Regions from separate parts of the Homo sapiens genome. Here region 1 is linked to region 2. Evidence: promoter capture Hi-C in 16 types of primary human blood cells and fetal thymus (Javierre and others, 2016). All regions are on one chromosome and are shown on one strand. The core of a region is centred on a gene start or on the middle of the fragment in contact, and the rest is flanking DNA. Distances in the headings are between cores, read along the strand shown. Region 1 has its middle 480 kb from the start of LINC00355. Region 2 holds the start of PCDH9 (protocadherin 9).

Region 1 (4,381 bases), core at 198-2,697, 2.7 Mb before region 2:
TATTGTTATATCCACCTCTGTTCTTTTGTTATCTACCATTTGATAGGGATATCTTATCTATGTTCATCTTTTTGCTTTCAGCTTCTGTGGGTCCTCAGATCTAACGTATGTCTTATAGATAGCATAGAGTTGAATCTTCTTTTTAAATCCATTCAGCCAACCTTTCTTTTGATTGAGTAGCTAATCTATTTACATATAATATAATTATTAATAGAGAAAGACTTTTGTCATTTTGTTAATTGTTTTTTCTGTTTGTTTTACAACTTCTTTGTTCCTTCTCTCCTCTTGTACTGCCTTTCTTGTGTTTCATTGATATTTATTGTGACATGCTTTAATTTCCTTCTCATTTCATTTTGTGTATATTTGGCTAATACATTTTTTGTGGTTACCATTGCAATTACAAAACCATTTTAAAGTTATAACATTCTATTTTAAGCTAATAATAACTTTATGTTAAGCTAATAATTTTAATTACCTAGAAAAACTGTACTCCTTTACAACTTCATCCCATACTGTATATTATCAATGAAACAAATTATAACTTTACATGTTATATAACCATTAGCACAGATTTATAGTTTTTCACAATGATTTTGTCCTAATTTTATTTAAGAATTAAAAATGACCAAAGTTGCAATAATATAAGGTTACTATTTTTGTCCATGTTTTTATATTTTTTTCAACAACTTCGTAGAACAGGTCTAATTGTAGTGAACTTTCTCAGATTTTATTTATCTGGAGTAGTTTTAATTTTTCTTCAGTTTGTAAGACATAGCATTCTTGTTTGTAGATTTTATTAATTTATTTATTTTTCTTTTCTTTTAGTCCTTTGAATATATCATCTTCTCAGGAGAAATCTTGAAAGCCAGAGAGGAGAGGGTTAATATATTTAATCTTTTGGAAGCTTCCTTATAATGAAATACTTTTATCTTGCTTTCACAAGTCTCTTTGTCTTTGACAATTGGATTATAATATGTCTTTATGTGGGGATCATCAGTTTTATTCTAATTAAATTACATTGAGCTTCTTAAATTTTTATTACGATTTCTTTACTCAAAATTGGGACTTCTTTGGCCTTCGTATCTTCCAGTGAACTTTCTTATTATTTCTCTATTTTTTCTCCATCTGGGACTTATATAATGACTATATTTGTTGGCTTGATAGTTTCCCATAATTCCCTTACACTCTATTTTTCTTTGTTTTTTTGCTTTTTGCTTCTCTTATTTAGTAATTTCAAATGGCCTGTTTTTAGGTTTGCTGATTCTTTCCTCTGATCAAGTCTAGTGTTGAATCTCTGTAGTGAATTTTTTTAGTTCAGTTTGAGAATTATAAAACTCTTGGAACATGATAACTCTATCCAAACCTCTGTGTTAAGAGACTTGAACAAGCTCTAGCATAGTTTCTAGCAACATAAGATCTTGTTCCTAAAATGACTCCAGCTCCCTACACCATTAAAATCTCTGCCTGCTGCTGCTGTCAGAAATTTCTGAATAAAATCTGTTTTTACCACTTTAACCACTTTAGCTGTGCTTAAATAAGTTATAGTATTTAAAAAAATAGATTATTTTGTACAAATAATTTTTTACTAGTTACCGAATTTTTCAAGACTATATTTCATTTGGTTCTTTTTAAATAGTTTTTCTTTGCTGATATTCTTACTTTATACATGTACCATTTTTCTTATTTTAATTAGATATACAATGCTGCAGCTCTAATGTGCTCTAATTGCAGCTCTAATGTGCTACGTTGCCCATTTTCAGCAGCTTCCAAACTGTTGTGGACTAAGTCATGTGAGACAGAAACCTGTCCTTCATGCAGCTCCCAGTAAAGTCAGAATGTTAGGAGCTCAATGAACTCTACTCTTTTTCTATCCTAAGGGCGGACTCCTGGCATGGGAAGTTTCCTCCCAGTTGCACCTCACTGCGACACATCAAATGAGGGGCATGGACAGGCATGCAAATATCACAAATAATCTCACCCCGTTTTCTGGGAAGCTTTCTTGATTTTATGTTGACCTGGGTACTATAGCTTTCCAACTAGTCCAACTAGTTCTCACAAAGGTACTCTAATTTGTTTAATTTTTTTTTAATCTCAATTTATCTACTGGGGGATATAAGCCTACAGCTTCCTAGTTTTTCGTCTTATCAATGTCTTCCCTTTTACTCCTTTTTGTTTAAGTGACTTTTGATTTTTTTAATTATAAATTCATATGAGTATCAAGTTGAAACGTTAAAACATTTCAAATGAAAAGCGAACATAGTTAAATTTTTTAAATGTATGACGGTGAAAAGAATTAAAATTATGATTTTTTTTCTCAATGGCAATAGATAATTTTTATCTATTATAAAATGATGAGTATGGTCTTTACATAATATAAACTAAAGAAATATGTTGAAAAATATAAAAGTCACTCAAGCACAGCACTGTAAGATGTTCTGTTCATTATGTAGGGATTTTGCTCTCTATATTTTTTAACAATATACAGTTTTTTTGCAATGTATCCTAATTAATACTTTCCTCTTTGTCTTTTGGACTAATTTTACCAGTCATCTTTATCTCGAAGAACAATATATTGAAGGCATTGTTTCCATGTCAATATATGCAGATGTTCATCTTTATTAATAATGACTAAACAGTACTCATTGTGTGGATATATAATTATATGATCCACCTATTAATAGATTTTTTCCTTTCCCTCTGAATTTTACTAAAATAAACAAAACTAATAAGAGATAACATTATATATATCTTTATACAATTGCTCAAATGTTTTCTTAAGAAAATTACCGGAGGAGGACTTTTAAAGTTAAAAGGAATATATACTAAATATATTCAAAAAATTACAGTCCTAAAATGTCTCATCAGTTTACTTTCCTATTTGAAAGTTGGAGTATTATTTGTTCTTTCATACCTATCCCAATAATGTTACATATCAATTATTTTGGTGCTTGAAAAATAATTACTTTCAATTGACATTTACTTTATTGTCCTTGATTTAAGACATATTTGCATAAGTTTTAGTGAATGTTCTTGTCTAGCTTATATTTACTGTTCTGTTCCTTTGAGTACATTTATTCTAGTGAAGTCATTTCTTATATTAACATACTCATATGACACGTTAATTATTTAGGACTGTTTTATTTATGTTTGTAATTTTTATATTTTACGTTTTTAATGTTTAAGATGTGTTTTTAATAAATTTTATTTTTTAGGTATACAGCCAAACTGAGTGGAAGGTGCGGAAATTTCCCATATACTACCTGCCCCACACATACATAGTCTCCCTCATCAACATTCCCACCATAGGGGTACATTTGTTACAATCAGTAAACATACGTTGATACATCATTATCACTCAAAGTCCATAGTTTACATTAGGGTTCACTCTTGGTGTTGTACATTCTGTGTGTTTTGATAAATATATAACGGAGTATGTCTGTCATTATAGTATCATATATTTTTCACTGTGCTAAAAATACTCTGTGCTTTGCCTATTTATACCTTCCTCCCCCATCCTCTAGCAACCACCAATCTTTTTACTGTCTCCACAGTTTTGCCTTTTCCACGGTGCCATGCAGTTGAAATCATATAGTACATAGCCTTTTCAGATTGACTACTTTCACTTAGTAATATGAATTTAAGTTTCCTCATTGTCTTTTTATGGCTTGGCAACTCATTTAGTTTCAGTGTGCATTCAAATTCCATTATCTAAATTTACCAAAATTTATGTGTGCATTAACCTACTGAAGGACATCTTGGTCACTTCTAAATATTTGCAATTATGAATAAAACTCCTATAAACATCCATATGTACTTTTTTTGTGGACATAGTTTTTAACTTCTTTGGTTACCCATAGGAACATGATTACTGAATCATGTGGTAAGAGTTATGTTTAATTTTGTAGGAAACTGCTTTCCAAAGTGTCTTTACTATTTTCTATTTCCATCGACAAGGAATGTTGGTCTATATTCTTGTCAGCATTTGGTGTTGTCATGTTCTAAATTTTGGCCATTCTAATAGGTATGTGCTGATATCTCACTGATGTTTTCATTTGCATTTCCCTTATGCTGTATTATGTGGACTACCTTGCCATGTGCTTATCTACCATCTACACATCTTATTTGGGGAGATGTCTGTTAAGGTCTTTGGTCATGTTTTACTGAATATTTTATTTTCTTATTATTGTTATAAATAGTTCTTTGTATATTTTGGATAAGAGTCCTTAATCAGATATGTATTTTACAAACATTTTATCTCAGTAAATCACTTGTATTTTCATGTTCTTGACATTGTCTTCCACAGAACAGATATTTAATTTCAGTGAAGTACAGCTTATCAATTATTTCATGAACAGCCACTTTGGTATTGTATCCAAAAAGT
Region 2 (4,320 bases), core at 724-3,223:
AAGTTCTTGAGCTATTGCGGAATCCAGCCTTAAACAGGCAATCAGAGCAGCCAACAGGTAAAAATCCCTCAGGTCCATGATAATGTATTTATTTTCTTTTCCTGGATTTTAGGGTTTAAAGGTTTCCACTGAGGAATGATGCACAAATTGCAAGAGGAAGCGTGCATGGACTGGAGGATGCATTATATCTCATCACTTATTTGGAGACAGCCGCTGTCAACACAATTGTATAGACAATATTATTCTTCAGTAAATAAAAACACACCGTCACAAAATATCACCACACATTTTCCCCTGAACATTAGTAAACATGGCAGTTTGCTCTGCCACTGTTTGCAAGTTTACTCTGTGGAGAAAAACACTAAATATCTCCTGCTGGTTGCATTTGCCGGGAGAAAATAAAATTTTCTACTTTTGAATTAAGGACAGCTGCTATTTTTACCTATATTCACGCACGTTGTTTTTCAGAATACTGTTTAATTCAAAACATGCATTCTTGTTCTCCTCTTCCCCTCCCCCTGTCTCACCCTCCTCCTAGCCTCTAACCTACCTCCCTCAGTCTTTTCAGGTGCAAGTGAAAAACACTAAGTATTTAGCTACGGTTCCTGCTAATTGCTTTGTCACATGTCAAATGTGTTTTCTTCTCTGCCCCACTGAGTCACCTATCTTTTCTAAAAAGGCTATCTTTTTCTTTCCTCCCAGTTCTTCAACTGCCTTCTAATACAATCTTACTGGGAAACGAGCATCCGGACATGCCGCTGCAGCGGCATCAGAAGCAATAGTCACCGGCCTCTACACATCCTCATTGCCTAAAAGCACAACAACAAGACTTCAGATTTCTTGCCCACAGCTTGCTCTCCTTTCTCCATATTGACAAATTATCCTCATTAGGATTCATAAACACATTAAAACTTTTAAAAATGTATAATAATATAGGATTCATTTTCCTAGAGGTGGAAGAGAGTGCCGAGATATAAGTGAAACGCAGCTAACATTCCCATGTAACATCACAATATTTTCTACTGAACATAAAAGAGAAAAAAAATGCAATTTCTTAATCCTGATCTCTGGTTAGAATATTAGTAACATTTGCCACACATAAATACTGCAACCCAATCATGCAGGTAAAAAGGCTTCTGCTTAGATAACTGCAGTTTAAATGGGTGCAAGGCTCCAGGCAGCTACCTACTTGAGTAGGACTGGTCAGTTCTCAGGCTCTAATCTTATCTGCATTAGGCTGCACAGTAGCTGATGCCCGCGATTAGTTCCGGCAGAGTGATGCAGGTAGGGATGCAGATACAGCCGAGTAGGTGAGCTCTGCCCCAACCGTCTACCCAATTACAAGCATCTTTCGCCTACACTGAGGACACATCTAAACACAGAATTTACAATTGTGCATGCGAAACTTTACACTTACGTTAGTTGCCTCAACCTTTCCCCTTTCCCAGTATGCTGCAGTTAGGAATGATTTGTTCCAACACATAGAAAGCCATGCATCTGGTAGCACCAGTTTGGGGAGAAATCAGAAGCAGCAAAATGTTTCCTCCTTGTAAAATGTGTTGCTTCGGGCTGGCAAATTAGCAACTCCAGAGAACAAATTCACGGATTTGTCGTTAGTCATTCTCTCCACATTTCGTCTCTCTTACCCACTGGGTCTGGGTTCTTCTGGGCATTTAGCACACACAACACATAGTTGCACTTCTTCAGCTCAGGGATATTTTCCACAGCAGCATGCATACCATTTCCATCCGATGCCAATACTGCTTAAGTCTCTAACTTCTTGTAGGAAACGTCAGAGTTGCGGTGATGATGATTCTCTGACAGCTATCCGGGTGACAGTTGCCCGAAAAATTCCTAATCGGTTATCTCTTGCGTGCTTCAGAGACTCTGAGGCGCTCCTTTCCGTCTCGCGTGCTCTCCCTCTCTCCCTTCCCCTCTGCCCCTCTCTCCTTCTCCCTCTCCTCTCTCTGAACTGAATTTCTTGATATAACTCTCAATAAGCCCAGAGGGAGGGCGTGACTGCCCAGGCCCCGCCCCCGGGCTCTGATTGGCCTGCATCTTGCGGCGCGGGCGGCCGCAGCCCGGCGCGAGGGAGGGAGCGCGGAACAAGGCGCTGACTGTCTCCCAGCCTCCCCTCCTCCGCGCCCCCTCGGCAGCAGCGAAAACCCGGAAATCTGATCCTGGCCCCAGGAGAGCCGGGTTCCATGAGGTGCACTGAGCATGCTCTGCAGGGTCCGGCGTGGGAGGGACGCGCTGGCGCTCCCCAGGCCCGGGCGGAAGCGGCGCTCGCAGGCGCTGAAAGCGAGCGACCCTCTGAGCCCGGGTGGTCCGGCGGGCAAGGGCGGCGCGGGAGACCCGCAGGGCGCGGGCGCGGATCCGGGGAACCAGGGCCACCGCTGCGGGCGGATGGGGGTCACCGAGGCGGCTCGTCTCCAGGCGCACACTTCGCACATCTCTTTGCTAAGTGAAGGGGCCAAAATGCACAGATGGGGGAGTCTACCCAGGAACAGAGGCGCGAGACGTATAGCCACCCCTGGGTTGGGAGCACGAGCCAGCAGATCCCCGGAGCGCGTTAAACGGACAACATGCCCGGTGCTGCAAATAGAGGCTTTTGCTGGCAGGGACATTGGAAAGAAGGGCGGAGAGGGAGTACAGCGAAAGGTGGGGACCGCAGAATTTGGAATCTCTGCGGAGACCGGAAAGAAAATTAATCGGAGCACTTCCTACATGCAGAGCCACGGAAACTGCCTTGGAAAGAGAAAGTGGCAGCGTCTGGGTCCCCTCGGTCAGCCCGGGCCAGTCGGCTGCGCGTGCGAAGTCTCCTCTAGCGGAGCGGGACCGGCCGCGGCGGTGGATCGTGGCGGTCCCTGCACTTCTGCTCCAGCCGCGCCTGGAAACCTGAGCCCGGACTCGCGGCTGCTGCAAAACCCGCTTCCAGCCCACCTCACTGCGAACTTTGCTTCCGAGGGGCTGGAAGGAGTCCCAGGCAGCTGTTTCCCAAGCTGTGGAACACTTCCTTTCCCCTAGGCACTTTCTGCTGATTCCAACTTTCTTTCCTGTGATTTTCGTCTTTTCCCGTGCATTTCATTTCTCCGACTCCAGCTCTGTACTAAATCCTCACAAGTTTCTCGTTTTCATACGGGAACTGGATGGAATGACTCCCCAAAAAATACAGCTTTATTTCTCAAATACTGACCCCCAAAGCACTATCTAGTAATATATTTGATTGATCTTTCAAAGTCAGTAAACCACAAAGGTTTGTGTAATGGCTTGTACTTAACGCCTGATACCTGAGTAAAGTTTGAAGCATTAACATAGGAACAGTTCACTTGGAACAAAAATTTATTTTCTGAATGACCTATAAAGGTTGTCAGAGAAGGTCTTAGTACATGATTGAATAACTTGGTCTAACTTACAGGAAGAATAAAGGGCATTTATTTTAAACCTGTGTGTTCCCCATTCTATAATGGGCTGCCTAGGCATTAAAGGCTCTTGACATACTTAAGCTCTTGACTGAGGGCGTGTTGGAGATTACCCCTTGTTTTTGAGTACAATAGTTTTGTTTGCTTTTTTTCTTTTTTAAGTAACATTTGTTTTTAGACGTTTAAATGAAAAGTAAAAAAAAAAAAAAACACCAATCAAGCTTACTAAGCCATATATTGAATAAATAATGACATGATTTAACCAACTAATTTGACATCACAATTTTCCAACATGAAATTGTAAGCTCTTTTTAATTCAAACTTTTCTGAGTTAATATTCACAGTTCAACTGCAGTGTCTAAAAGCCCACTGTAAAATCCATTAATCCCTTATATGTAAAATATAAAATACTTTCCTTGCAGATAATAGACTGATATTTTTTAAATAGCAAAGCAACTTTTATTATAGTAATATTTTGTATGATTAGAATATATAAAATTCAAGAATAGAAAGGACTTACAAGTATCCCAAAGTGAAAAGAAAAATATTGCCTCACAGAATAATGTCAGTGAATGAAAGGATGATTCTTTTATCTTACCACAGTAAACGATCATTTTGCCATTCACAAAATCTACAATTAAAGCTAGTACATTGTTCCAATTGTCACCTATTTTATGCACTGCACTGTTTTTAAATAAATGAACCATCATTGTGATACATTTACAATAAACATAGCAGCACAGCCACTTTCCAGTTCATTTCATAAGCACCACAGTTATATCATATTCTTATTCTAATCATACCGTAGTCATTTCAAAGTCATGTTGTAGTCGCAACACATAGCTTAGCAATAATTATTTAACATCATTATTAAACGGAGTTGTTTCTCTTTGCTAAG

Evidence for each region. Contacts are between HindIII fragments. The CHiCAGO score rates a contact against its expected background, and 5 or more counts as called.
Region 1: a fragment that was not itself captured here is called in contact with the fragment with the promoter of PCDH9 in region 2 in 3 of 17 cell types (M2 macrophages, total CD4 T cells and M1 macrophages); the score reaches 6.6 in M2 macrophages.

Annotation. Positions count from the first base shown.
Region 1 is chr13:64,558,699-64,563,079 of GRCh38, forward strand. No RefSeq gene overlaps it. Among named protein-coding and RNA genes, the nearest start is that of LINC00355, 480 kb to the left of the region's middle. The HindIII fragment of the contact is 1,090 bases long and covers 903-1,992 here.
Region 2 is chr13:67,228,363-67,232,682 of GRCh38, forward strand. It overlaps PCDH9 (protocadherin 9), which reads right to left and starts at 1,974. Exons shown (of 5, transcript NM_203487.3): 1 at 1,418-1,974; 2 at 1-213. The coding sequence starts at 78. RefSeq lists a silencer at 2,245-2,384. The HindIII fragment of the contact is 4,939 bases long and covers 1-3,641 here.